Linked DNA regions of Homo sapiens: regions 1, 3 and 4 are each linked to region 2. Evidence: promoter capture Hi-C in 16 types of primary human blood cells and fetal thymus (Javierre and others, 2016). All regions are on one chromosome and are shown on one strand. Each heading gives the region's core, a stretch centred on a gene start or on the middle of the fragment in contact. The rest is flanking DNA. Distances are from core to core; before and after follow the strand shown.

Evidence for each region. The method cuts DNA at HindIII sites, captures the fragments that hold promoters and counts their contacts. A CHiCAGO score of 5 or more calls a contact.
Region 1: a fragment that was not itself captured here is called in contact with the fragment with the promoter of IL13RA1 in region 2 in 4 of 17 cell types (monocytes, naive B cells, neutrophils and 1 more); the score reaches 8.7 in monocytes.
Region 3: a contact is called between the fragment with the promoter of LONRF3 here and the fragment with the promoter of IL13RA1 in region 2, in 14 of 17 cell types (monocytes, fetal thymus, total CD4 T cells and 11 more). The highest score is 14.4, in monocytes.
Region 4: a contact is called between a fragment that was not itself captured here and the fragment with the promoter of IL13RA1 in region 2, in 2 of 17 cell types (neutrophils and monocytes). The highest score is 6.9, in neutrophils.

What each region holds. Positions count from the first base shown.
Region 1 is chrX:118,533,191-118,541,037 of GRCh38, forward strand. All of the region lies in intron 1 of DOCK11 (dedicator of cytokinesis 11), which reads left to right. Among named protein-coding and RNA genes, the nearest start is that of DOCK11, 41 kb to the left of the region's middle. RefSeq lists enhancers at 2,980-3,029, 3,260-3,339, 3,740-3,789. The HindIII fragment of the contact is 737 bases long and covers 4,894-5,630 here.
Region 2 is chrX:118,723,873-118,730,736 of GRCh38, forward strand. IL13RA1 (interleukin 13 receptor subunit alpha 1) reads left to right here and starts at 3,734. Exons shown (of 11, transcript NM_001560.3): 1 at 3,734-3,854. The coding sequence starts at 3,767. RefSeq lists a silencer at 3,343-3,772. The HindIII fragment of the contact is 2,975 bases long and covers 2,123-5,097 here.
Region 3 is chrX:118,968,265-118,976,092 of GRCh38, forward strand. It overlaps LONRF3 (LON peptidase N-terminal domain and ring finger 3), which reads left to right and starts at 6,354. Exons shown (of 11, transcript NM_001031855.3): 1 at 6,354-7,333. The coding sequence starts at 6,517. The HindIII fragment of the contact is 6,269 bases long and covers 2,401-7,828 here.
Region 4 is chrX:118,515,889-118,523,181 of GRCh38, forward strand. All of the region lies in intron 1 of DOCK11 (dedicator of cytokinesis 11), which reads left to right. Among named protein-coding and RNA genes, the nearest start is that of DOCK11, 24 kb to the left of the region's middle. The HindIII fragment of the contact is 3,996 bases long and covers 3,215-7,210 here.

The DNA of each region.
Region 1 (7,847 bases), core at 4,012-6,511, 190 kb before region 2:
CATGTTGGCCGGGCTGGTCTCTAACTCCTGATCTCAGGTGATCTGCCCACCACGGCCTCCCAAAGTGCTGGGATTACAGGCGTGAGACACCACGCCTGGCCTTACATAGCTTTTAGAATATATTATCTCATGCAGTTGTATAAACTTAAAATATTGGTGGGCCCAAAAAAGGTAGAGATAATTTCAATTAATGGATAGATTCAATGTGATGGATGGTGGAAAACTAAAATATTTGTAGAAAGGTGTATTTTTGCCCCTATCAAGGTTGATTTTCAAACTAGAGTCTGTCAGTTTTCTTTACTCCATTATCAAGAGCAAGTTAATGAGATGGGTAGACCGATTGCCAGATCCAGTGTGGAAAATGATGTGTGGCTGCTTTATAGATTACTGAGCTTCTCTAATGGAGTAAGTTTATGCTACTGTGTTCAAATGATACAAACAGGACCTCTAGGAGGTTATGTTTTATTGAATGTAAGTGATTTAGATGGCTAAATCTACATACCTATAGAATGCCTGTGCACTTTACAGTTTTTTCTGCTTAAGAATGCAAGTTATGTTAGAGTTTTGTTTATAAAACTCAGGAAAAAGTCAGAGATGTCTTTTTGTTGTTGTTGTTGTTACAAGTTTAAGGTGAGCACTAAGATCTGAGGCAGGTTATAAAATAGTTGATAGGCATAGAATGAGCACAGTCTAATTTCTCCTTGCAGGAATGAATTATTTGCAATAATTTGTGTATGTCTTTGTGAACTCGTTAAATTCTTTGATTTGTTAGAAAGTCATTATGTATCTCCAAGGCACATTTCTTTTTCTTTCTGTCAATAATGGTGTACTAAAGAATAGAAAAAAAATTCTAATTTTAAAAAGGCTCTTTGCCATTCTAGTCTCTCAATTATTCAAGCCCTTCTTTTCATTTCTTAAACCTCTTTTGTGTTACTTTTGAGTCATTTAAATGCTTATTAGCACAGAGTGAGCACAAAAAGCCAGGAGGAATTGAATTCAAATCAGCTTTCCTACCTGTCAACAAGTTTGTCGAGTAAAGTTTTGGCTAAATTGAGTTTTGGGGTAGAAAGTTCATGAAAATTCTATTTATCCATTTGTAGGTAATCAAGGTTATTTGCATAATATTTGAACTGGCTGTAATGAAAAATGTTTGTTAATAGAGTGTGCACTAATCATATAGTGCATAGTCTTGTTTGTTTCTTATTGTTTTTAAAGTAAATTCTTTGTAAGTTTTTAAAAGTAGCTCTTGAGTTTTTGTAAATAGTTAAATAGACTTGGAAAGGGGAAATAATTCGGCAGTTAAAACAATTTCTTCCCTATGCTAAAACTCTAAGGGAAAAAATGGGTTTTATTTTTCCTTAATGTTTCTATGTTAGATTTAAAGGCCTTCGAAATCATATTGTGCTGATTCTTAGAACATTAAGTTGTTGTTCCTAAATTAAAGCTGGGAAGTGAAAATTTAATTCTGAAAGCATCAGCAACAACTTGTCCTTCTCTCCTTGTGTGCTGCCATTTTAGCTTGGAAGGCATACGTGTAAGAGCAGTCTCTTTGTACTATTTAGCTGGTTATCCCTACACAAAAACTTCTGGCTTTGTAGTTCTCAGGGCTCTCTGCTAGGTTGTGTGGAGGATATTGAGGTGAATTAGACATGGTCCCTTGACAATAGCGTACTGTTGTTTTTTTTTGTAATTTGATTCTTAACCACTTGAAATTGAATCTGCCAACTCCTTTCCCCCAAGTAAAAGACCTAAGGTGCTAATCCCTACTCACTGATGACAAATGCTAAATTGGAAGCAACAGCTTAGGAATGCAAAGATCCTTATCCAATTACATTACAAGCTCTCTAAGCCAGTCATGTTCAGCATCATCAGGGCGATAGGAAGGCAAGATCTCACTTTGGTAAGAATGATAGCGTAGTTTGAGTAAGTTTTAGAAAATTCTAAAATGCAAAGTTCATTCAAGGAAATAAAATGTGGTAGGAGCTGAGAAAATGATTTGCTTTTGTTAAGTTCAACGCATAAAGGTTTATGTGGATCATGGTTAAGAGCACTGGCTTGGGAGTCCATCAGATAAAGATTTGAATCCCAGCTCCACAAATATGTGACACTGGACCTGCCTAAGCCTCAATTTCCTCATCTGTAAAATGGGCATAATAAAATAACCTCTCACAGGATTTTGGGGAGAATTAGATGAGATCATAGATATAAAACGCTTAACCGAGTATACAGCAATGCTTAATGTAAGTGGTAACAGAAAGTACAAGGCACTGTTTGCTGACCGAACCGGTGTTTTTGATCCTGCCTAGGAGACTAAGTAAACCACCCAAAAAGCAGTTAAGTATCCAGGGAATGTTATATATGAGTAAATGCCACAATAGATGGGAAAGACAATAAGGGCTGTTGGGGAGCGAGGAGGGCTATGCTATCATAAGAATCAGGTGAGCTAAGTGTGGGTTGGTAATAAACATGACCCACTGGTCTCATGGAAAGTATGACTTTTCCCTTAGCCGTTTACTTTAAGAAAGGTCAGTGTCCTGAATGCAGTTTGTATTTAGATTCTTATGCCAAGATTTTCCCCAGAAAATAATCTTTATGAAAAGATGTTCATGTCTATTTTGGCAAGTTGGGTTCTGCTAGTTAAAAAGATGCCCCTCCCGCCCCACCACATCACCATTAGATTGTAGTTATGCAAAGCTCCTTCAGTAATTGGAGTTCCTATTGGGGAAGAGACAAAGAGATGAGCTGCTGAAAGATGGTCACATTTGGAACAAACAGGCCATGGTCATAACAAAGTCAAATACTCTTTATTTGAACCTTATGAAGAAATTTCTTACAGGCTGGACACAGTGGCTCATGCCAGCACTTTGGGAGGCTTGATGGGTGGATCACTTGACCTCAGGAGTTTGAGACCAGCCTGGGCAACACGGCAAAACCCCGTCTCTATAAAAAATACAAAAATTAGCCTGATGTGGTGGCACACATGTGTAGTCCCAGCTACTTGGGAGGCTGAGGTGGGAGGATTGCCTGAGCCCAGGGAGGTTGAGGCTGCAGTGAGCTGTGATCAAACTACTACACTCCATCCTGGGCGACAGAGTAAGACCTTGTCTCAAAAAAAAAAAAATCCTTACAGTTATGGTTCCATTATTGACATGCTGTATAGGGTTCCTCTCTAGAAGTCTCTAATCTACAGTGGTGGCATCTCTCACTTCTGTGAATCATAATGCAACTTTTGCTTCTCCTCATATTCACACACCACTCTTGACAGTTACCTAGTCTCTGATCTTACAGGGTTTATGAATAAAACTAGAAGGCAAGATGAAATGATCTGAGACCACATAAATCGATATGATGAAATTCTTCTGATTGATCTAATGGGGAATAGAGGGACTCACACATTTTAGTGTGCAAACACACTTGTACAGTTCCTTTTTTGGAAGAAGATATGGCTATCAAAGGGCATGATAGATGCACAGAAATTACAATAGTCTGTGATCAGCTCTCACATCTTGGGTTTATCTACCTTCCCCACGAGACTGTGAACTTCTCAAGGGCAAGGTCTGTTTTTTTATTCACCTCTGCATTACCAGGGGCTAGCACAGGGCCAGAACCTCAGTAGGAACTCAATAAATGCATCTTTATGCTGAACTCACTTTGTTTTCTGTGCTGCCGGAAATTGCATGCCCCCAGTGGCCATTTTGAGTGCAAAGTGTTATTTTAAGATGCTCTCTAGAGAAAGCACTCTAGGCTCTGCTTACAAATGTCTGAGAGGAAAGGAGAGCCGAATGACTAGGGGATCTGGAGAAATTCCTAAGTGAAGGTCGTGGAGAAATGATGGGAAGGAGAGACTCACCTCTTTTTGAGTGTGCTACTTCTATCCCAAGACTGTTGTTATTTTTCATAAGAAAATGCTCAGATGTCATTGAGGCTGTAGTCTGACTGCAATACTGCAAAAAAGCACTTTTGGGCTAATCATTCTCTTTCTGAAACCAGTAGTTGCCATGTTCCTCCTTGTGCTGAAACTCAGTTTGGAGGATGGGGTGGTGGTAGTGGTGGCGTGGTGGTGCAGGGATGTTTTTGAATTGGCTCTGTGCCCTACTGCTCAGCTTTCTGCCTGCTTTCTGGTATCCCTCCCAGTGTGATAAAGGAGAGATTCTATGATGCCAGTGTTCACTTCAGACTTGCAGAAGAGACATTCTTAGAATTCTTAAGGAGAACTAGTTTCTAAAGTAAAAGATTTACCGGTAAACTAATGACCTTTGGTATGGTATTTAAGCAGAAGTAACCCAGGCTCATTTTGCATTGCTTACAGATAAATATTATGTGATTATTCTTGTGTCTTACACATTTCTAATGATAACATAAATATGCCTGCTAGTCAAATGTGCTTTTGGATACATGAGTGGTTGGATGGTTGAATATATACATTCATGTACATTTTTATGTATTTTAGTATTACAAGCATGGTTTTATATTTATACACATACAGTTACGATGATAAAAGATCAGTCATCCTGTACTGCGAATGTACAGGAACCACCACAAAATTGTAAAGTCTAAGTGGTGATGCTATTAGTGACCCTCAGTGAGGATCCATTGTTTCCTCTCTTTGGACCAAGAAGTGGACTGCAACTGAATCTATTCTGACGAGTTTCCTTTTTTGCTATCTGTCCTTTCCACTTATATTAGAAATAAAATTATCTCAATTTATGGAGCTGTGCATTTCTTCCCATTTGTAGAGTTTGCACATAGAAAGCTCATTGAGATTTGGTCCTTAGTGGCCTGAGTAAGCAACGGAAAAGTGTACTGCATCCCACACCATGGTACCAAAATTGGCATTTTTATTTTACTAGAGATAGAAAAATGCAATTTATTCTCCTTTATGGGATGATATGAAGCTTTCTTTTTCAATAAATGTTTTCAATGAAGAAGATATTTGATTTGAAGAAAAATATGAAGTAAATGATAATACAGATGGTGTGGCAAATATGAGGATTATATGTGAATAAGTTCGGGAAACTAATAGAAACAAGGATTAGGAGTTGGGAGACCTGGGTTTGAATCCTGGTTCAGCTCCTAATGTAGACAGATGAACTTAGGCCTCTGAGCCAGTTTCCTGATGGATAAAGTTGAAATGATGGTATTTTCCTTGTCTACTTGACAAAGCGTTTGGTAACAAACAGAATGCATATGAAAGTGTTTTCTTAAGACTGCAAAGTGACCTTGAAATGAATTAACAAAAAATACTAATATTATTAGCAAGTTATTCAAGAAAACTTAGGAGTCAGTGAATGAAAACTTTTAAGAACAAATCATTTTGTTTTGTTTTGTTTTCCCCATGGTGAAAACTGAGTTGGTTCCAAATTTAGGTTGACGGTTTTCCTGTCACTACTTACGGGAAGAAGACTGAAACATATGCTCACTTCTCTCCAGATTGCATAAATGCCTTCGCCTTTTACTTAGCACTGCTCCGGAACTGTATGGAAGTTGCTATTATTTGAATGTTTAAGGTACCATTTATTGTAACGGGTTTTTGGAGTTATGAAAAAGCACCTTTGCAGGCCAATCAGTGCACACTGGCAGAAAGGATAAATTACAAAGCTGAAAGAAAGACCCTCTTTGAGTGTATTGGAAGCTTTTATGTATAAGTCTAATAATAGAATGAGAAAGCTGAATGAGAAAGTTAGATAAGGGATATGATGGAGACTGCAGGGCAGAACCACCATTAAATCATGATAATTCTATAGGTCAAAAGGTTTTCTTTGTCTCTGATGCCTGCAGAGTTATAACTGAATCCTACTAGAAGGGAAATGCAGGGTTCAGTCCCTTCTCATCTTTCTTCTTGGAGAGATGAATCCTGATTCACAGGCCTAAATCTTCTATTAGGGGAAGCTTTGTGGGACCCAGAGTAGCCACCCTAACTTTTCCGCAATTGAGCTACCCCTGACAAAAAAAGTAGGCGTGAAGACCCAGAATGCTTAGTTTAATCAGTTTTAAATGAAAAGTGAAACTTTGTTTTCTATAACATAAATATATGTCCTTCAAAACATGTGGTAAGCTGTGTTTCATTTTTAGAAGGTATATACTTTTAAATAAATGAGTAATTCAGGAATTGGAGAACATTACGCTAAGTGAAGTATGTCAGGCAAAGAAAGACAAATACTGCATGATCTCACTTATATGTGAAATCTAAAACAATCAAACTCATAGAAGCAGGGTAGAATGGTGGTTACCAGGGGCTGGGGGCAAAGTGGGGGAGATGGTAGTCAATGGTGGGATACAAAGTCTCAGTTAAACAGGAAGAATAAGTTTGGTTTTTTTGAGATCAATAGTATAGCATGCTGAATATGCCTAATAATTGAGTACTGTACATCTTATCACTAAGAATAAATTTCTCATGTTCTCATCACAAGAAATGTTAAATATTTGAGGTGATAGATATAACTAGCTTAATTTCATCATTCTACATTGTATTAAAAATCATAACACCACTTTGTACCCCATAAATTAAAAAAATAAGTGATTCATTTTGACATATTCTTTCCATATTAATTTGGAGCTACATTAGAAAGCTGAAGGAGGGCCAGGCATGGTGGCTCATGCCTGTAATTCCAGTACTTTGGGAGGTCAAGGCGGGGGGATCACCTGAGCTCAGGAGTTCGAGACCAGCCTGGCCAACATGGTGAAACCCTGTCTCTACTAAAAATACAAAGATTAGCTGGGTGTGGTGGCAGGCACCTGTAATCCCACCTACTCGGGAGGCTGAGGCAGGAGAATCGCTTGAACCCAGGAGGTGGAGGTTGCAGTGAGCTGAGATCACGCCATTGCACTCCAGCCTGGGCAACAAGAGCAAAACTCCATCTCAAAAAAAAAAAAAAAAAAAAAAAAAGGAAAAGAAAAGAAAAAAGAAAGCTGAAGGAGGATTTTCTTTTTTTTCTTTTTCAAATATACTTGAAGTAGGTACTTGTAAAATTATTGTACAGAGAAGTTGACAGATTCAACAGGTTAAAACATTGAAATTTGAGGACTGTTTTTGCAATCTGTACTAGGAAAATAGTTGGCACCAAAAGCAAGACTTAGATTATTTTTAGTGCCTCAAGCTTGCTTTCTTAGATAGGACTTATTCATTCAACTTCTCTGAGAAATTGATCTCAGACTGTGAGCGTTAGAGCTGGAAGATGCAGTCAGTTTCCTTTTGAGTCCATGGAAACACGGTAGATATGGCCGAAAGGGGTCAGATTTTTCTGTCAGAAAATCTGAATTTCTCAAATAGGATTTTTTCCTTTTATTTCAACTCATTTTGCAGTAGTATTTGCAGACATGAGAGGGATGATCAACTTGCTTTGATCTTTGTAGACATGGGTCTACAAATCCAAATTTAAGACTTGAAATAAAGCATAAAGGTTAGGATCTTTTAGATTTGTTGAACACTGAGCTCATTGGTCAGAGTAGTTTACTTTAATCTTTCTAAATAATCTTCTACAGGAAACTCTGAGATGCCCTTCCGATATGGAAATTGGGTATAGCTGTGACCTGTTGTGAACCATGTATAAAAACTATTCTCAACTTTTCTATGGATGTAGTGATACTAGAGACTACCTCAAATACTATGTACAAAAATACAAGTATAATCCCGATGCTATTATAATATTAAGTCTTAATATAAATTATATTTGGGGTTTTTATACAGTTTTTATTATAAAATTTTAAGGAAATAATTTCATATGAAACATCATCATTAAAAATTACTACTGTCTGCCCACCTTGGTTTAGAATAGAGTGTTGAGACATGGCTCTGGTTGAATCTGAATATCTCAAAGTTCATCAGCAATTAATGACTGGATGTCTAC
Region 2 (6,864 bases), core at 2,484-4,983:
AAGTGAAGCTAGGAAGAGTGTGGGGAATCTAACCTGAAGAGGCAAGCCTGCAGGCAGAGGAGTTGAGACTGCCTTTTGTGGCATTTGATGAAGGGAGGGGTGTCACTTAAGCTTAAGCTGAGGAGTGACATGGACAGATTGCTCATTGGGAAGATCTGTCTTGTAAAGGGTAGACCCTCATGGCCAGTTTGAAGACTGTTTCTGGAATGGTAATAAAGTCCTGAAATAGAACCATAGAGGCGAAACTGGGTGGTCGGGGGAGGAATAGATCTGAGAGATGTTTTACCATCTAATCAGTGACTGCAGGACTAGACAGTGGATGGGGAACTGGGGGTACGAGATACAGGAAAGGGAGTTGTCAAGAGTACATACTTTTAGCATTCATCTCTAATTTTGGCCAGGCATGGGGGACAGTGGGTGGGTGGGGACCAAATACAAAAGACAACAAAGAGTATTCTAGCTTAGGATCTCTCTCACCTTTGGCGCTGTTGTCATCTTGAGTAGAGTAAGTCTTTGTTGTGGGGGCGGTCGTGTGCATTGTATTAACAGCAGCATCCCCAGCCTCTACTCACTGCATTCCAGAAGCATGCCCCCGCTTCAGTCATGACAACCAAAAATATCTCTCCATATTGCCGAATGTCCCCTGGGATGTAAAATTGCCCCTGGTTGGGGGCCACTGATCCAGAATCGGGAGGGAAATTCCCTGTTTTCAACTTCTCCTTTTTCTTTGTTTTGCAGTGGTGTGAGGTTTTGCTTAGAGGACTCTTTGTGAGATTTTTGTCTAAGGGACCAGCACTTTTAGCTAAGCCCTTGGAATATGCTGGTGTCTGTGTCCCTTTTGGACTCAGGAAGGTGTCTCTAAATGGATGGAAGGACACCTGACTTTGGAAAGAGGGACATCATTCTTTCCTGCCAGACATTTTCTTGCATATGCCCTTTTCAGCCTCCAGTTACAGAAATGGACGAAGACTTAGTGAGAAGGGCAAAGGTCAAAACAGTTGAGTGGAGTGGCCTAGGTACACAGGGCAGCGCAGAACTCCAGCCACCCCGGGCCAAAGTGAAAGAAAGGCCACTGGTAGTCTCGCACCCAAGTCATCAGGACTCTAAGGGTTAAACTTGATGTTGACTCATCATGATTTTGATTTACACAAAGCCAAACTGAAAGCTCCTTGTCTACTGCAGTTCCTGGAAAGCCTTCTATCTGTCTTCATTCTTCCTGCAGACCAGGGCAGTGGCCTGATTCAATCCAAGACGCTCTTCGAATCACACTACACGGAGATTACAAATACAAGTTTTATGTTGAAGAAACAGCATTCCTGACTCTTTCCACCCCCTTCCAAAAATTTGAAAAATCGTTGCATGATGTTCAGGGTCGGGAAGAAAGGAAAGTAACAATATAGTCTTAAGGCCAGCAGGCCGGAACTATCTTGGTGAAAAGAAATCAGGTCTCTCCCCTCTCCACACTGCCGTTTGTTTTTTTTCCTCACGATGTTCAGATTCTCAGGGCTTTTCTGGAAGCTCATGACAAGCTGCAATCCCTATTTTTCTAATCATTTGCTACCATTACTGTTTTATTAAGCGCTTGGTCAATCTATGCCAAGCAGTGCCCATGATGGCACTCAGCCAGTCCCCAGGGGCTCCTGTTCCAACTAAAGACTCCTTAAAAGGCAGATGACATAACCATTTTGGAAACGTTATTATAAACTTATTGTATAATGTTTATAGCAAATGTCAACAAGTGTATATGTCCGTGGTGGTGGAGGAAAGGCCTTGGGATACACAGTGGCTGACCTATTTGTGGGAGGGATTTAGAAATAATGATACTATCTCTCAGTTCTACAGGCCTTGATACTTTACAAACTGTTTTCATAAACATTATTTTGTTCGATAACACATGCAAGCCAGGATTTATTTTTTTTTTTTTTGAGAACGGGGTCTCACTCTGTTACAGACCCAGGCTGGTTTTGAACTCCTGGGCTCAGGTGATCCTTCCACCTCAGCCTCCAGAATAGCTGGGATTACAGGTGCATGCCACCATGCCTGGATTCTGGAATTTATTCTGAACCGTTAGCCAAAAGAATCAACATCCTGAGATTCAGCACAGGCAGGCCCTCCTCCTGGAAGCTTCCCTTGCTCCTTCCCTCCCAAAAGGTACCCTTTTTGTATCCCATAATTCCTTGTTCTTGCCCTTATCATTGCCCCTCAGACTGACTGCAGCTTTCTGTTAGCAGAGCTTGCTTTTGGTGAGTGTCTTCAACAGTTCCTGGAACAATTTCATAAATATTTATTGAGTTTGAGAGCCTTAATTCCAAGAGTGGAACCTTTGTTGTGAATAGGTTAAACAACCCTGTGCCCTTTGGGTGGGGTCTAGACTAGGTATATTATCAGCATTTTTATTGCTATACTTTTTGTAACTGTTTTCAGGTATATGCATTGGCTTAATTCGGCCAAAATACACCTCATTATGGGTCTCATCATCCACCTAGACATGATTCTTTTTTGGGAGAAGGTGATAGAATAATGTCCCCCTCCCATGATTCCATATCGTGATCCCCAACACCTGTGAATATGTTAACTTACATAGCAAAAATGACTTTTCAGTTATGATTAAATCAAGGATTTTGAGATGGGGAGATTATTATGAATTATCTGGTGGACCTAATCTAATCACAAGGGTATTTATAAGGGAAAAGGGGAAGTAAGAGGGTCAGAGTCAGATACGACAAGGGAAGCAGAGGTCTGAGTAGTTCCGCAACAAGCCAAGGAATGTGGGTAGCCTCTAGAAGCTGGAAAAGTCAAAGACACAGATTCTCCCCTAGAATATCCAGAAGGAATACATCTCTGCCCACACCTTGATTTAAGCTCAGTGTCACTTCTGACCTCCAGAACTGTAATAAAATAAAACTGTTAAATCACTAAATTTGTGGTCATTTTTGACAGCAGCAACAGGAAACGCCTAAGGACTCTTGTTTTCCTTCCTCCCAGCCTCACTGACCCTCATAGGCGCCCAAGTATCAATGTGTATTCTTCCGATTCACCTCCCATCCCTTTGAAAAATATGTAGAAAGTTTGTCGTGTGCTTTAAAAAATGCACGTATGGTATCCTCCCTCATGTTTGGAATGTTCCTTTTAAAATCAACATTATGTATTGCCAGCTTTCAAATATGCCCTTTGTCCTTTTCACAAAGCACAGTACTGCCAGTGTCCCCAACTCCACCCAGTGAAGTAGGGCTGGTATTACTAACCCTGGAGTCAGCGCTAGCAAACAAGGGCTCAGAGGTCAAGGGCTGGAAGCCAGGTCTCCAGACTCCCAGGCCAAGGCTCTTTTCCGCAGATGACTCTGTCCTGGTGTCCAGCAGGGCACAGCCCCTAGCACCTCCGAGGCCCCGCAAGTGTGCTGGCAGCGGCGACGCCGGCTCCGCCACGCGGAGGGAGGAGGCCCAGGCAGCGCCCGGAGTGGGCGGCGACGTGGTGGAAGAAGTTTTGTTCGGTCAGAGACCGGACGCGGGAGCTGCGGGTGGGCCAGGTGTCCAGCCTTGGGAGCCGTAGGAGCCGCCAGAGCCGCCAGAGCCGCCGGCGCCCCGCCCCGCCTCCTCCGGCCGCTCTCGCCGGCTCAGGTTACCTGAGGCCGGTGGGCGGGGCGGCCCTTCCCGTCTGCGCCGGCCCCCAGCCTCCAGGGCGGCGGAGCCGGGAAGTGGAAGAGGGAGCGAAGGAGGCGGGGACTGCCAAGGCTCCAGCCCGGCCGGGCTCCGAGGCGAGAGGCTGCATGGAGTGGCCGGCGCGGCTCTGCGGGCTGTGGGCGCTGCTGCTCTGCGCCGGCGGCGGGGGCGGGGGCGGGGGCGCCGCGCCTACGGGTGAGTGCGACCCTCGGGGCCCGAGGGGCGGCCGGAGGGCTGAGGGCGGTGAGGGTCACGGCTGAAAGGCCCCGGAGGTCAACGCCGGGCGGAGGGCCGAAGCTGGGGTGGGTGCTGGGGGCTGCCCTCGCGAGGCCCCGCGCTCGGCGGCTGCGGCTTCCCGCGCGGGATCTCTGGGGCCCGGTACTGGGGCCGGTTCGAGGTGGGACCCGGGAGCTGCGGGGTTTTCCCGAACTCCGGGTGCGGCGGAGGTGGCGGCAGCGAAGTAAGAGGGCTGCGACTTGTAGTGGGAAGAGCCCAGGAGGCTGGCGTCCAGGCGTGCGGGGGCGGGGGGCCCGAAACATGCCCACGGCGTCAGAGGGCCGTGGGTCAGCGCCCGGAATGTCGCCTGTGAGCCCGGGAGGAAATGAGGCGCCAGAGCCGGCGGGGACCACGACCGAAGTCCAGGCGAGCTGAGAACGCGCCGGGGCTCTTTGCCCGAGGCCGCGCCAATCCTCACTGTCTAAGGGTGGCTCTTGCGAGTGGAAGTTGAAGGGAACCTCTAAACATCTCAGTCCTTGTTGAAAAAGGACGTGACGCTCATGACCTCCTCTGGCGTCGAAGAAATCCTTTGGGAAATCCAGAATAGCATCCCGGCAGATGCTCCCCCCACCCCACTCTCTTTAATAAACCTTATATTTTAGGGTAATTGTAGATTTATGGAAAAGTTGCAAAGATACTTCAGAGAGTTGTGTATATCCCTCACCCTGTTTGGTAACTTCTAGTTAATCAACCTGGCAGTTGTGAAAAATTGGGAGTTAATGACTTCCTTAGGAGCAGCTCCTGGAAGGAATGGCCTTCTGGACGTTTTTGGTGACAATGAAAGCCCCAAACTGTATAGGTTTTATTATCACATTGACACAAACACTTATATATGCTTATTGCATTTTTACCAATGTGCTTTGAAATCCAAGTTGAAATGTTGATTAGGAAACCTTAATGCCCTCTATGGATTCAGTCAATAAAATACATGCTGCCAGGCAGTGTTTAGGGGCTGAGGATGCAGCAGTGAGCAAAACAGATGAGGTGCCTGCCCTCAGACATATCGGGGGGTGGGGGTAAAATATATGATATGTCTGAGGGTGTTAAGTAGAGAAAAACAGAGCAGGTGGGAAGGGGTTTGCCATTGTAAAAAGGGTGGATCGAGAAGAAAACAAATGTTGCTGAAAGGTGGCATTTGAGTAGAGACCTGAGGGAGACTTGAAGCTTGTCAGTCAATAATTATTCAGGTGTCTGCCTTATTTAGTACTGAGTCAGGCCCTCTAGGTTGACTTAGAACCTGAGAGTGTATAGCAAAATTCTTGCCCCAAAAGGGCCTCTAGTTTAGTTGGGTACACCTGATTTCCGTAATCATATGGGGACATTGCAGTCCAGAGAAGGGAAGGAACTTGTCTAAAGTTACCCGTCTCATTAGTCTCCTGATTTTCACAGTGCCACTCCAGCACCCTCCCTCCTACAGACTCACTCCCACACACACCTGAAACAACAGCTGGCCATCTAGAGAATACTGGCAACTCCCAACTTCATCAGTCCTGTCACAATGGTTTGTCGTTAGCTTGCTTATTTAGAAAACAAACTTCTTTCCCCATTAAAAGTATTGATAGAATTGCATTGAGGTATGGTGGGAAAAAATTAGATGTTTCCAGTGAGACTTGAGTTTTAGTGGTTCTGATATTTACCACCTGTGGGACTCTGGGCTGGTCATTTCCTCTCTTTTGTGCTGCAGTTAGTTTTCTCATCTGTGAAATGAGGAGGTTGAACTGCATAAATTCTAAGAGCTCCTCCAGCTCTAATCCTCAGAGTGTTTATAAAAGTGATTAGATTACTAGCTTAGTTTAACCTGTCCCACTCAATGGCCCACATTGTGGCATGTCTTAATTATAACTAGCATGTATATAGCATTTATGCCCAGCAGTTTTCTAGCTGCTTTACTTGTACTATTTCATTTAATCTTTACCAATAATATAACTTGTAGGTGCTGTTATTAGTCCCATTTTGTACACGAAAAAGTTGAGGCACAGTGCGACCAAGACCCTTGCCCAAATTCGCATACCTGGCAAAGTGGAAGAGCTAGGTTTCCAACCCTGGCAGCCTGATTCCAGAGGCCATGCCCTTAACCACTGTACTCATTGCTTCTGCCCAGCAGAAAAGACGAGAGTCCTTAGCTGGACACCTCCCAGGGTAGCAGGGCAGGACGGCTTGGGACCCACGAAAGTATGTGCAAGCCATTTGTTAAGAAGCTAATGATACTATATTAGGCCGGGTGCAGTGGCTCATGCCTGTAATCCCAGCACTTTAGGAGACTGAGGCAGATGGATCACTTGAGGCCAGGAGTTTGAGCCTGGCCAACATGGCAAAACCCCGTCTACTAAAAATACAAAAATTAGCCGAGTGTGGGATTACATGCCTGTAATCCCAGCTACTCAGGAAGCTGAGGCATGAGACTCATTTGATCCTGGGAGGCAGAGGTTGCAGTGAGGGAAGATCAGGCCACTGCACTTCAGCCTGGGCGACAGAGCAAGACTGTCTCAAAACAAAAAAAGAAGCGAATGATACTACATTGGAGACTGGCTTTATAGTGGCTGGGCTGTGTGGTCCAAACAACTAGTACTATAGGCATTCAAAAGAGAAAAAGCTGACGGTTGGTAGTGTTATGGAAGAGGTAAAACTTGAGCTAGATCTTCTGGATGACTGGGATTTGAGTAGGTGGAGAATTTATTCCAGGTGGGGGCAATAGCAGGAGCAGAGACCCAGAAATGAGGGCAAGAGTGCTCCTTTGTGGTCAAGAAGGAACCTGGCTTGGCAGGAGAGTGCATTGGTAAAGTCAATCCAGGCAGAATAGCTTGATTTGCCCTTGAAAGCTCTGAGTCCGGCACAGCATGGGAAAAATAACACAGAAGGAGGAAGCAAGCAGGGAGACTTCACTGGGTAGGGGAGCCCCTGGAGTGTGAAGCTACATAAGAATCTATGG
Region 3 (7,828 bases), core at 5,104-7,603, 250 kb after region 2:
GCAAAGTTAGAACTCCAACCTCCCAGCAACTAACCTTGCCCTGGGCTCTGTCCCACACACCTGGCAGCTCAAGACTTGCTCCTTTTTGCACTCTGGGCGACAGACTCCCTGGCTAACCAAGCGCGTCTAACTTGTCTTGCAGAGAAATTAAGCGAAATCTTCCTTGGGATAGTATCTTGCCATCTTTCTTTTCTTAGTGGTTGACAGGCCAGTATCTCCACTACTGCTGAATGACCTTGTGCACATCATTGAAAGTCTCTGGACTCTCAGTTTACCCTTCAGTAAAATGTAGGGAAGAATTATTAATGCCACTACCAGGGGAACTGAGGATGAGGTAGGGAGGGAAGAATCGGGGTAAACTCCTCCAGTGTATTCTGCATCATCCTTTACATGGGTGAACATCAAATTTAACTGAGCATCACAATCACATGCGTAGCCTTTAAGAATACAAATTCCTGGCTGGGCGCGGTGGCTCACGCCTGTAATCCCAGCACTTTGGGAGGCTGAGGCGGATGGATCACCTGAGGTCAGGAGTTTGAGACCAGCCTGGCCAACATGGCAAAACCTCGTCTCTACTAAAAATACAAAAATTAGCCGGGTGTGGTGGTGCATGCCTGTAATCCCAGCTACTCGGGAGGCTGAGGCAGGAGAATCGCTTGAACCTGGGACACAGAGGTTGCAGTGAGCTGAGATCCTGTCACTGCACTTGACCAGTCCAGCTTACTTGGAATTCTCTTTTTCCTGGGCCACCTATCCCCCAATATAAAGGAAGTCCCCTGGTATTGAGCCGCAGGATGGTCTCACTTCTCTATTTAAATCCTCTCCAACCTAGCTTAAAAGCACCTTTTCCATGAGACTGCATTGCAGTCTGTCCCCTTTGAGGGCTTCCGTGGACACACTGTTCCCTTAATTTTGGCACTTCTTACAGACTGCCTGTTATTTTTTAAATCTTTGTCTCTTGTTTCCTCAGTTAGCTACTAGAGGATAAGGACTGTGTCACATCCTATTATTGCCCTACAAATGCCAACTCCATTAGCACATAGTATATGCTCGATAAATATTTGCTGAACTGATGAAAATCTTGTAGGTGGGAAATCTGAAATAATTTCTTACAATAAGTAATAAGAAGGAGATACGGGAGTTCGAAACCAGCCTGACCAGCATGGAGAAATCTTGTCTCTACTAAAATAATACAAAATCAGCTGGGCGCGGTGGCACATGCTTGTAATCCCAGCTACTCAGGAGGCTGAGGCAGGAGAATCACTTGAATCCAGTAGGCGCAGTTTGCAGTGAGCCAAGATCACGACATTGCACTCCAGCCTGAGCAACAGGAGCGAAACTCTGTCTCAAAAAAAAAAAAAAAGAAGGAGATGTTCTGTGCTCTTTAGCTTTCTGATCATATGAAAAAAAAAATTTTATAAACAAAGAGATATGAGCCCTAGCTTCCAATTTGGCTGTATCAAATTCATTATGACCTGTGGCAAGTCACTTGCCTTCTCTAGTGTTCAGTGGCCTCATTTGTGAAACCAGAGCTGATGTGTAAGCTAACTTTCCTTCCTTCCTTCCTTCCTTTTCTTTCCTTTTTTTTTTTTTTTTTTTTTTTTTGAAACAGAGTCTTGCTTTGTCGCCCAGGCTGGAGTGCAATGGTGCGATCTTGGCTCACTGTAACCTCCACTTCCTGGGTTCAAGCAATTCTCCTGCCTGAGACTCCTCAGTAGCTGGGATTACAGGCACGCGCCACCACTCCCGCTAATTTATTTTTTTAATTCTTAGTAGAGATGGGGGTTCACCATGTTGGTCAGGTTGGTCCTGAACTCCTGGCCTCAAGTGATCCACCCACCTCGGCCTCCCAAAGTTCTGGGATTACAGGCGTGAGCCACCATGCCCGGCTAAACTTTCTTTTAGTTGTGGGTTTTGGCTACTCTGTATAGCAAGGAGCGGTCTTGCTTTCCATATCAATACCATTAATGTCCATGGTTCCTTTTTTTCCCCCTGTAAGGACTGCAGATTTATGGGTCACCCCAGTTTATAAAATGAGAATATCAGATACAGAACAAATGTGTGCTTTGGCCAAGCTTCCAGGCATAGAGTGTGTGCATGTGTATGTGTGTGCGGGGTTGCTTACACCTTACTACAGGTCTCTGGCTTCGAATGGACTCTTTCGTCCCAGAGTTGCTCAGCAGGCCTTTCCAAGTACAGGACTGTCAACCATTTGTTGTTTGTGTGCCCAGTCTCTGCTTTGTGAATGACCACAGTGCATGGCATTCCAACTGTTTCCTCTTGTCCCTCTGCACACTCCTAGGGCCAGAATGTCCACTGGCATGTTCAGTAAGATCTGTTCAAGCACTGTCCTGCTTATGTCACTGGAGGAGATATAAGACACCAGTCCTTGCCCTCTGAAGCTTCTAGCCTACATGGGAAGCCAGTACAAGGATGTGTGTATGTGGGGAAAGATGCACTATCATAAGTGAGGGAGAGCCTGGGAGTTATGTGCTGCTTTTTTTTTTTTTTTTTTTTGACAGAGTCTCTCACTCTGTCGCCCAGACTGGAGTGCAGTGGCGTGATCTTGGCTCACTGCAACCTCTGCTTCCTGGCTTCAAACCGTTCTCCTGCCTCAGACTTCCAAGTAGCTGGGATTACAGGCGTGCACCATGATGCCCTGCTATTTTTTTTTTTTTTTTGTATTTTTAGTAGAGACGGGGTTTCGCCGTGATCAACCCACCTCAGCCTCCCTAGGTGCTGGGATTACAGGCATGAGCCATCACACCCGGCTGCTGCTTTGATGTGTCTCCAGTATCTAGAACAGTCCTTGGTATGTGGAAGATGCCCAACAAATATATGAAAATGTGTGAAAATTGCTATGGTTTTCAAACTTGATATTGTAAGGGACAGCTTTTCTTCAAAGAAATCATACCTGGAGGCTCAGTTATGTGAAACAGATGGATACAATACTGCCCTGCTTGAGGGGAGCTAGGGTCAAAGCCTGTCTGCTTGTCTCCTCTGAGCCCCAAAGAGATTCTTGAGAGTCCAGTTGGAAAACTACTAGTTGAAAATGAGGGGCAGCTCAATCCTTGCTCTCTCTTCTTGGTTAACCTTAGCCACAAGGTGATCCTAGCAAAATAAATGGAGGTTTAAAGAACCTTACACTCCAAAGGGAATATTTGCACCTGAAAAAGATGGTGTTAATCTCCCCCTTCCCCTCATTCCAGGGGGGCTCCAATTAGTAAGAGCAGAGGGAAGGAAATTCTGAGTAGGAGACTTCTGAATTGGTTCAACAATGTCTATCAATGTAATGGTAATATTTGTTTAACTTAAACAAACAAAGAAAGAAAACCACTGTGATAATGTTTTTCAGCATTCAATAGAAACCCACTTGGTGTTGTCCTACAGGCAGTCTTGATTACAATGTAAAACTCCCTGTGGAGTCTGGTCAGTGAGTAGCTGGTACTGCCATTTACACCAGAGTACCTCGCATTATCCAGACTGCTATTCACATTCCTGACCAAGTTCACGGTCAACCTCCTGCACTGGCAGCCAAGAGGGCCTGCCTGGAGAGAGCTTCTCTTCTCCATGCCTGCAGGACTGTGACTCTCTACCTGACCTGGCCCTCTCTTAGCCTTCCTACCATAACAGGGCAAGGGAGGGGAATCAACCCAGGGGATATTCCCTTGTCAAGGTCATCCACGGAGCAAAGCACATCCCAGATTTGCATCTAGGAAACAATTTTGGGTAACAGACATATATATATATATTTTAGATATGTCAAAGGGGTAAAGCTCTTGAATTAAGATGGTTTCATCATTATCTATCTCATGAATCTCTACCTTCCCCAACGACTGTCCTTCCTCACAGATGCCTGAAGGGGCAGGCAGATAATTAGTGCTGGGGACCTCATTTGATAGTAGGGGAAACTGAGAGGTGAAAAGAGCTCCCTTCAGTTAGATAGCAACTCACCAGGAACTCCAGTTTCTCCCCTACTGCTTGGTATGGCCACCTCCTCCACCTCTTAGCCAGTCCTCCGACTTCTACATCTTAAAAATCTAGCTCAGGGGCCAGGCGCGGTGGCTCACACCTGTAATTCCAGCACTTTGGGAGGCTGAGGCGGGCGGATCACCTGAGGTCAGGAGTTCGAGACCAGCCTGACCAACATGGAGAAACCCCGTCTCTACTAAAAATACAAAAAAATTAGCCAGCTGTGGTGGCACGTGCCTGTAATCCCAGCTACTTGGGAGGCTGAGGCAGGAGAATCACTTGAACCTGGGAGGCGGAGGTTGTGGTGAGCTGAGATCGTTCCATTGCACTCCAGCCTGGGCAACAATAGCCAAACTCCATCTCAAAAAAAAAAAAAAAATCTAGCTCAGGTCTGACCCCGACTAAATGGACAATCTTCCATTGATTTCCCATCCCCTCAACCCCGGTTCAAGCCACCATCCACAGCATTTGGACTAGTCATTTGTACTTAAGTAACTGAGTTAGTATCATGAAATTTGGTCTTAGGATCAAAGCCACTCAAGGTTAGAGCTGGAGGGAACCTTGGAGATTAAGAGAAACTAAGGTTTGGAGAACCTACCTAAGGTTTCATAGCAAATATGTGACAAATCCAAGGCTTCAAGCCAAGTTTTCCAATGTGTCCCTCGTGCTTTCCTGACTACATCTGGAGTTTCTCTATTTCTTCTTCTCCTTCTCCTTCTTCTTCATTTTTTTTTTTTTTCGTGTGTGTGTCTTTTTTCCCCTATGTGATGCTTCCTTTCTGCCCTGTGACCCTCTCCCTCTGTCCTGTCTTATTAGAAAGAGGCTCTAGAGCTGGCTGCATAGTACCTGTTCTCTGGGACCTTGGTGTTGATCTAAGACTGGTTTAACTACCTAAAGAGAAGCAGAGACCCGAGGGGGCCTGCCATAACCCAACTCTGAAACATGACTTAATCCCAAGTAAGATCAGCTCTAACATTTGTTCAGAAGCAAAAATGATGGATTCTAAAGTTTGACTTCCCCAAGGTCATCTGGCTAAGAGGTGGCTGCAGCAGGGGGCAACAATAGGTCTTCAGGCCCCTGGGGCGGCAACCTGGCACTGCCCAAGAGCCCGCAGGCTCTGAAGGCCAACTGAGCCAGCGGCAAGCCTAGTCCCTGCCTCCCTGCTTGGAGCAGTGCGACTATACCGTTTTCTGTCTGCTCATTTGTGAGCTTGGTTCCCGTCCTAAATGTGGGGGTTCAAGGCAGACAAAGAGTGTGCAGTTGGCCACCCCGCTCGCCTTCAGGAAGTGTGTAGGACACCGTCGAGGCCCCCTAGCCATTGTAAACCAGGCGCTGAGGCTCGTGCCCAGTTGTACCCTTCCCGCGCAGCGCTCAGGAGCGACAAACCTGGAGGCTATTCGGTCTGCCACTGGGCTGTGCCGGGATTCGCGGACTTTCTCCTGAATAGCGCTCTCAGCTCGCGTCTTCCCCCTGCCACTCTCCCACGCCCCCAGAGTACCCACCGACCCCAGCAGGCCGGGTACATCCCTGCCGCGCCCATCCGGCCAGTGGCTCCAGGGGCCGGCCTGGTGTGTCTCCAGCTGGGCGCCTACCGCCTGCCCCAGCGCTAGTTCTGGCGTTGGGGGTAGAGAGGTAAAGAGGGGAGTTAGCGGGGCATCTCCCTCCCAGGGCTGAGCCGGCAAGCGCATCTTCTCCGCGAGTTCCTCACTGTCCAGCGAGCGCTGCCCAACTTCTGCGCCGGTGGGACCCGCTGCTCTGAGTCACTCTTGGCACAGAACACCAAGCACCCTCAGAAACCGAATTCACCACCTTTGGGAGGCTCCTGGGAGAAGGCAAGGAACCCAGGCGGGGCTCCCAGGGCTCTCGGGCTGGGACTGGGTTGTGTGTGTGTGGGGGGGCTTCACGGATACCCCTCCCAACCTGCTTCCTTTCCCTGACAGCAGCCATCTCCCCCAAGAGGGAGAGTCTTAGGCGTCCCGGAAGACCCTGCGGACTGTGCACCTCGAGGTACCAGCCTCTCCTGGGAGGAGTGGGGGGCCGCTGGTCAGCGGCTGGCAGAGGGGACCTGTTTGCTGGCCCGTTTGGAGGTGGGATGGAGTGGGGTTTGGAGACTGAGAAGCCCAAGAGAAGACACTGAGTTTCTCCCCACCCCACAACCCCACTTCCGAAAAAGAACCAGGTGGTGAGGAGGAATAAGGCGAAGTGTAAACACAAACAACCTCAAAAAGAAGCCAAGAAAAGCGAAGCCCAAAGAAGCAAGAGCAACACTGTTACAAAACTGTCTGGTTTTGTAACAATTTCCCCGCCGCCGGCCAATGAACAGCGTGGCGGCACGTCACGTGGTACCGTTTTATATAACACTTTGCTGAGACAAGACAGTTATTAGGCGGCGCGGGGCGGCCGGCATGGAGCTCCCGGAGGCGCGGCAGGGTCAGGAGCTCGGTGGCATGGCGGCGGTGGCTGCCCCGATTTCCTCCAGCTGCCACTCCTTGCTTCGTGTCCCCGGTCCCTAGACGCCTCGTCTCCTCCCGTGTCCCTCTTCCCATGGAGTCAGTACGGATCGAACAGATGCTGAGCTTGCCCGCTGAGGTCAGCAGCGACAACTTGGAGTCGGCGGAGCGAGGGGCATCAGCGGCCCAAGTAGACATGGGCCCCCACCCAAAGGTGGCTGCAGAGGGCCCCGCACCTCTACCGACGCGGGAGCCAGAGCAAGAGCAGTCTCCGGGGACCTCAACGCCGGAGAGCAAAGTCCTGCTCACGCAGGCAGACGCCTTGGCGTCCCGGGGGCGAATCCGTGAAGCCCTCGAGGTGTATAGACAGCTCTCCGAGCGGCAGCAGCTGGTGGCTGAGCAGCTGGAGCAGCTGGTGCGCTGCCTGGCGGAGAAAGTCCCGCAAGGCGAGGCGCTGGCGCCGGCGCCCCCGGACGAGGGTAGCACTGCAAGCGGCACCGTGGCGGCGGAAGAGACGGGGGCCGCCGCGGCTGCGGCGGCCACCGAGGTGTGGGACGGCTTTAAGTGCCGGAAATGTCATGGGTTTCTATCAGACCCCGTGTCCTTGTCGTGTGGCCACACCTTTTGTAAACTGTGCCTGGAACGTGGGCGGGCCGCCGACCGGCGCTGTGCGCTGTGCGGGGTCAAGCTCTCCGCCTTGATGGTGGCCACTGGGCGGGCGCGTGGAGCCCGGCGGGCTGGGCAGCAGCCGCCGCCGCCGCTGCGAGTCAACGTGGTGCTCAGCGGCCTCCTCGGCAAGTTGTTTCCAGGCCCAGCGCGAGCGTCGCAACTCCGGCACGAGGGCAACCGACTGTACCGCGAGCGCCAGGTGGAGGCGGCACTGCTCAAGTACAACGAGGCAGTTAAGTTGGGTGAGTCCAACGCGCTGCCGGGCCGGGGCTGGGGCTCGGTGGCTACATGAGGGAGCGGGAGAACAAACCCCGCAGCGAGAAGGGATTTGGACCAGGGCAGAAGAGGGGGCGGGGGACCCATGGACTGTGGCGGGGTGGGGGAGGGGTGATTCTGGGGCTGGGTCTCTGAGTTTGTTCTGTTTTCACTGCTTATCTGTGTTTCACTGTGTTTGTGTTGATCTCGGTTGCTTTTTGTCTTTTCCTGCTACTTCTGTTAGCTTTTGTGTTCCTGTCTCTCAGTCCCCGTTCCTGTCTGTGTCTCCTTGCTTCTGGTTCTTTTTCTCCGTCTCTTCGTATCTTTGTCACTGTTTCTTTCTTTTTCGGTGTCACTGTCTCTGTTCCTCTGACTCTCCTTCTCCCGCTGCACTCCTGGTCTCCTCTTACACCTGCTCGCACCTTCCCAGCGAGGAGAGGAACTTCGCGCGCTCCTCGCACTTGCGCCCGGTCCTCTGGGCT
Region 4 (7,293 bases), core at 3,963-6,462, 210 kb before region 2:
TGTAAACATTGGAAGAATAACATGAACATCAATTGGCCTTGCAAATATGTTTATAATAGCAAAAACAAAAACCCAAAAAAGTTCACCTAAATGTTCAAAAGTAAGGATTTGGGCAAATATATATATATATACATTCTTACACCAGAAAACTGTGCAGTCCTTAAAATGACATTCTTTCTTTCTTTTTTCTTTTCTTTTCTTTTTCTTTTTTTTTTTTTTTTTGTGATGGAGTCTGCGTCTGTTATCCAGCCTGGAGTGCAGTGGCATGATCTCGACTCACTGCAAGCTCCGCCTCCCGGGTTCACGCCATTCTCCTGCCTCAGCCTCCTGAGTAGCTGGGACTACAGGCGCCCACCACCATGCCCGGCTAATTTTGTTTTGTATTTTTAGTAGAGATGGGGTTTCACCATGTTAGCCAGGATGGTTTCGATCTCCTGACCTCGTAATCTGCCCGCCTCGGCCTCCCAAAGTGCTGGGATTACAGGCGTGAGCCACTGCACCCGGCCTCCTCCTCTCCTCTCCTCCCCTCCCCTCCCCTCCCCTCCTTTTTCTTCTTTCTTTCTCTCTCCGCCTCTCTCACACTCGCTCTGTTGCCCAGGCTGGAGTGCAGCTGTGTGATCTTGGCTCACTGCATCCTTCTCCCCCTGAGTTCAAGCAATTCTCCTACCTCAGCCTCCCTAGTAGCTGGGAGTGCACTACCATGCCCAAGCTAATTTTTGTATTTTTAGTAGAGATGGGGTTTCGCCATGTTGGCCAGGCTGGTCTCGAACTCCTGACCTCAAATGATCTGTGCACCTCAGCCTCCCAAAGTGCTGGGATTACAGACGTGAGCCACCGCACCCGGCTGACATCTATATTTATTGACAGTGGCAAAAAATTTACATTATGAAATGGCATGCAAAGTATGATCCTATTTTTATAAAATAATGCATATACGATATATGTGAATATACTTACCTAATCACTCTGTGCCTCGTTTTCTTCATCTGTAAAATGTAGATAATGATAGTACTGACCTCAGAGGCTTGTTGCAAGGTTTGAGTAAAATTAGACATTGAAGCACGAGGAACAATGCCTAGCACATAGAGAAGCACTGAATAAACGTAGCTATTAGTATTATTGTTATATTCAAAACAACATTCCCAAAGGATGTTGTATGTTGATAACATATGTTTATATATAATGCGTATATGTGTGTATAATATTAAGAGTGCTAGATGGGCACACTGGCTCACACCTGTAATCCTAGTGACTCAGGAGGCTGAGGTGGGAGGATCATTTGAGCCCAGGAGTTCGAGGCTGGGCAACATAGCCAGACCCCTGTCTCTTAAAAAAAATAATAAAATTAGCTGGGCATGGTGGTGTGTGCCTGTAGTCCTAGCTACTTGTGAGTCTGAGGCAAGAGGATTGCTTAAACCCAGGAGTTTGGGGTTACAGTGAGCTATGATCGCGCCACTGCACTCCAGCGTGGGTGACAGAGTGAGACCCTGTTTTAAAAAAAAAGAAAAATAAAATAAATAAAAGAGTGCCTATCTCGGATGGTGGGATTATGTTATGAGGAAATTTTATTTTTGCTTTAAAAACATTAATTCATTTATTTTACTCTGAGCATTATTATTTTTATAAACAGAAGATGTAGAGTTCAAGATAAGAACCATACTTTCAGGATTTCTAGATTTATGTGACACGCATGTGTGTGCACACACAACATATGGTCTCTCTATAATTAGCTATTATTATTAAGATAATTTTTCCTATAATCCTGCAGCTCCTTGCCTAGTGCTTTGCGTATCTCAGATTCTCTGTCTGCTAGATCATTAAAATTAGGATGGGCTAGAGATTAGACTTTAATTCCCACTTGCATTTAATTCCTATCTTCTTAAGTATTATTCCCTGAACTTTGATTATAATGTGTTTTCTTTAAAGTGAAATTTTGAAGAATATATGTATATAGTCTTACACTAGATATTTGCCTGTACATCCACATATATCTATATATTTCATATTATCTTTATAATTTTGGGGAGGCCTAAGTGCCTACTCTGAATTTTCTGAACTGTAAATTAAAATAGCTGCTATGTTGCGTGTGAAATGTATCTCAGGTTGTTGATACTGGAGTTCTCTTTTGCTGCCATTAAGAAGATGAATCACTAGAGGGACTTAAATTTCAAGTAAAGCTAATTAATTTGCATTGAAATTGCAAGGATTTGTGGTCATGATTTTTCTGATTTTGAACATGCTGAATCTTTGTTCTTTTATTTAAAATAATCTTTATACTTCTCATGGATTTAAAAACAAATGGATGGGAGAATTACTTATGAATTATGAGCTTTGAAATGGAAGGTCTTGCCTCTGACATTTAAAACAATTAGATTATGATGCGCATCTTGGTAGGCAGGGGCTCTTTCCCTCTCTACTGTGTGCCTCTTTTTTCTGTCAGCATGCATGTCCTTGAGTTCATTTCTTTCTTCCTTCTGTTCTTCTGTCTTCTCTCTACTATATGTCTCTTTTTCTTACAAGATATATAAAAATGATTTGTTACGTTTGGTGGTCTCTGCCTGTAGTCTCAGCTACTTTAGGGAGACCAAGGCGAGAGGATTCCTTGAGCCCAGGAGTTCAAGTCCAGCCTGGGCGACATAGTGAGACCCCCATCTCTTAAAGAAATGGTTTGTTGTATTTAAACTGGGATTTGGATATTTCCTCTTTGTAACTGAAAAAGTAGGGCAAATGAAGGGATGAATAAGTGAAGCAGAGAGGATTTTTAAGGCAGTGAAACTACTCCATATACTACTGCAGTGGTGGATACATGCCATTATATATTTGTCAAACAAAACCCATAGAATGTACAGCACCTAGAGTGAATCCTAATGTATCCTATGGACTTTGGGTGTTATGATGTGTCATTGTAGGGTCATCAATTGTAACAAATGTACCACTCTGGTGCCTGATGTTGATAGTAGGGGAGGCTGAGCCTGTGTTGGGGCAGGGAGCACATGGGAACTGAACTCTATAATTTCTGCTTAATTTTGCTGGGAACCTAAAACTGCTCTGAAAAATAGTTTATTTAAAAAAGTAAGATCTATGAAATTTTTTTTTGTCAAAAAATATCCTAAGTGTAGTTCTTTTGCATTTCCGTGGACCTTTAATTTTTCTGCCTGTCAGTAGTCCTAATATTTTTTTAAAAAAACTTTTTGTCCCATCTCGATAATTTGGAAGCTTGCATTCCCAGCTCTCTTGCTGACTTGTTCGGCATAATTATGGAGACTTACAGCAAATGAGAATTGAATACTTCGAAGGCTTTGAATGAAAGGTGCCAGGTAAAAGCAAAGCAATTTTATTGTTAGAGTGGGGGATTATGAGTCAGAAATTTTAAGGTCAGCTGGGCACGGTGGCTCACGCCTGTAATCCCAGCACTTTTGGAGGCCAAGATGGGCAGATCACTTGAGGTCAGGAGTTTGAGACCAGCCTGGCCAACATGGCGAAACCCCATCTCTACTAAAAATACAAAAAAATTAGCCAGGCGTGGTGGCACACACCTGTAATCCCAGCTACTCGGGTGGTGGAGGCAGGAGAAATGCTTGAACCTGGGAGGTGGAGGTTGCAGTGAACCACTGCACTCCAGCCTGTGCAACAGAGCTTGACTCTGTCTCAAAACAGAAAAGAAATTTTAAGGTCTGCTCTTCACTGTGTGACCCTGGAGGCAAGGCGCTGATGAAATGAGTATGTGAACCACCAAAATCATGGTGAAGAGGTACCTGCTAACCAAATTCAGACTTTGGAGCAGCTGTGTTTCCTCAATGTGGCCCATATGTAAATCAAATTTGGGCAAATCACGTCATTTCACATACACTTGGGGAATCTGATTTTTGAATGAACTTTATTGGAATCCTTTGGAAAAGCAAAGCATAATTTTGTAATGCAAGTAACCATCCACTAATTTATATTTTTTTAAGGCAGGGTTTTGTGAGGTGGGATTTCAGTTTTTGTAACACACTGTCACTCCTCTGCCATTTAAAATCAGATTATACCTGGGAGAGAAGGATAACTCTGGGAAGTTGCATTAACTCCTTCAGACCTGAAGAAGGCATTTAGTCAATTATTGTTTCTGGGAACTAAATAATACCCTTGTCACTCAAAAAATTTAAAATAGCCTTTGTAAGTGGCTCCTCAGTCTCTAAGAGAACATGACTCATTCTTTCTTTGTAACTTGAAAGAAATCCAAGTGTCAGAAGACACTGGGAAATGGACTTAAGTTACACTTCTAAACATCAGTACTAGAGATCTTAAATATTAGGAAACCAATATGATATTGGTTTAAAGTTGATGGTTGGAGCCACTGTATTAGGATGAAAGGGCAAGGGATTGACTGGCAGTGCTTTCTAGAATATTCCTTGGGGAAATTCTTGCTGGCAGCATTAAGGCTCCTGAGCTCTGGCTGTACTCTGTGTACCATAGGCTGTCCTGTTCTTTTGTCCAGAAAGCCCACTCCCTGCTTTTCTAACTGCCTCATGGTTACACATGGCCTCATAATGTTTCTTCTGCCAGCTTAATTTATGGTTGCTTTCCCCTCAAGCAGCCTTTGGATCCATCTTCTGCATATAACCAGTGAAAAGAAACGGAGTATATTAGAAGATGCCTTGCATTAGTGCTGGGAGATGGATTGCATTCCTGTACTTCTTAAAACCCATGTCCTTGATAATACAAGATGGAGCTGTGGAGGGTGAGGTTCTCCATGTCTGGGTTCGCCTTTGCCTTTCATTGACCTCGGTGGCTGCCAGTCAATGGAAAAATATGATCAGGGTTCACCCTATGGAATCATTGCTTAATATCATAGATGACTCATTGGAATTAGTGTTGTTAGAAAATCACTTCCAGATGTGGAGCAGAAACTTTTCCAAAAGAGAGAAATACACTCTGGAAAACTGGGTTTTATTATTTTTTTAAATGATCTTAGGGCCAGAATTAAATCTGCTTGTGCGTGGTTAGTCAACATATATTTGGAGTTCTAAGTAGTACAATCCTGTTCACTTCCTTTAGACTGACATCCACATAAGTGGGGGCTGCCTTTAGCCTGCTTCCTTATCCTCTGTCAACTTCTGCCCTCTCCACATCTCCCATCTTCTCACAGTGATGAATGGCTTGGAAGCCTTATCTACTCCCTCAGGTTCCGGTCTCTCATTCCTTATCATTACCAGCAAAATTTATTGAGCATTCCTAGATACTGTGAAGGATGGAAGAAACATCTAGTTGGAAAGCAATAGAAGTTTTGGTCATATAGCTAAGTGACTGAGAATGAGCTCTGGTGTCCACTTCTGAGTTGAAATGCCACTTTCTGGCTGTGGAATATTGGGAAACTTACTCAACCTTTTTAAGTCCCAGTTTCTTTGTTTATAAAATAGGAGTGATGGTGATAATCATACCTACCGCATAAGGTAAGCATGAGGCCTAAAGGGATAATCCATGGTCAACCCTTTGCATAGGCTAAGTGTTAGCTATTATTATTCATCAATTCACCTCCGTGTGTAGTTTTTGTATGAAGGGGGAACATGAACCATTAGTTCTAGACTGACACTCTCCAAAAAGCAACCACAGTGTTTGAATTTTGGAATTCTCTTTAAGTTTATTTCACTGCAGCAGAGAATTCACTGGCTTCTCATATTCACTACATTTTTAGTTGTGCCCTGTTAAAAGAGGGAATGTGTTGTCATCTCCTTGGAAGCACCACATGACAGACTTTGTAGTTCACGCAATAGTCAGAAGGAAAGTATTTGTAAATAGCATACCCTGGAGCTCTTGCAAAAGCCACGTCTATTCTAATAAGGTGTTTTTGGTAAATGAAATCTTATGTTTTCCATCCTACTTATTTTTCACAACGTAACCTATTATCACATTGTATTTGAGTAGTTTTCTATTGAATATGTATTCTCCCCTCCCTCCATCTCAAATGTAACATATCAATAAGTGTGTTTCTATACTAGAATGTGGTAAAAAAAACATTTCTAAAACTTGAAAACTGCACTAGAAGAAGAAAATATCATAACCATTCCTATTACATAGAGATTTACATTAATATCTTTACTCTTTAAAGCATTGAAAATGTTTGGGAATTCACAAAACTGCTGCAGAATCTGCTGTAGTGGTTAAGAGCATGCACTTGGCCAGGCTCATTCCTGTAATCCCAGCACTTGGGGAGGCTGAGGCAGGCAGATCACTTGAGGCCAGGAGTTTGAGAACAGCCCTGCCAACAAAGCAAAACCCCGTCTCTACTAAAAATACAAAAATTTAGCTGGGTGTGGTGGCGGGCACCTGTAGTCCCAGCTACTCAGGAAGCTGAGGCAGGAGAATTGCTTGAACCCAGGGGGCGGAGGTTGCAATGAGTGATATTGCACCACTGCACTCCAGCCTGGGGTCAGAGTGAGACTTTGTCTAAAAAAAAAAAGCATGCACTCCAGAGTTAAATAGAGCCTGGCTTTGAATCCTGACTATACTGGTTTTCTGTTGCTGCATAGCAAATTACCACATACTTAGCAGCTTAAAATAACACACTTATTATTTCACAGTCAGAAGTGTAGGCATGGCTCAGCTGGATTCTCTGCTCAGGGTTTTACAGGTGTTGGCAGGACTGCATTCTTATCCAGAAGCTCAGAGCTTTTCCAAGCTCATTCAAGATAGCACAATTTGGTTCCTTGAAGTAGTTGAAATGGTCCCATTCAGCTGGGGGTTGCTGTCACCTCCTAGAGGACATCCTCAGGTCCTGGACAGATAGGCCTCTCATCATATGGCAGTTTACTTCTTTAAATCCAGCAGGTGTATCTCTCTCTTCAGGATGGGCCCAGTTCCTCTTCTAGAGATCACTTGATTAGGTCGGGCCCACCTGGAATCCTCTCTGTTTTGATTAACTCACAGTCAGTTGATTCCTGACCTAATCAGGGTAGGGATATCTCTCAATATTCACAGGTCCCGCTTACATTCAAGAGGAGAATTAAACAGGGTGAGTAGACCAGGAGGCAAGAATTCTAGGGGCATCTCAGAATTTGGCGTACTACGCTGACTCTATTTGCTCACTTGGGCAAGTTTCTGACCTCTCTTAATCTGTTTTCCCATTGATAAAATGTGAGTAGTGATAGTATTCTCTACCTCATACAGTCATTGCTAAAATTAAATGAGGTAACGCATGTAATGCATTTCGCATAGTACCTGGTGCTTAGCAAGCTTTCAATAAATGTTAGAAGCATAATAGAGAAGAGTTACATTTCTTCCTCCTGTCCTACATTTTCTTTCATTTCCCCACCC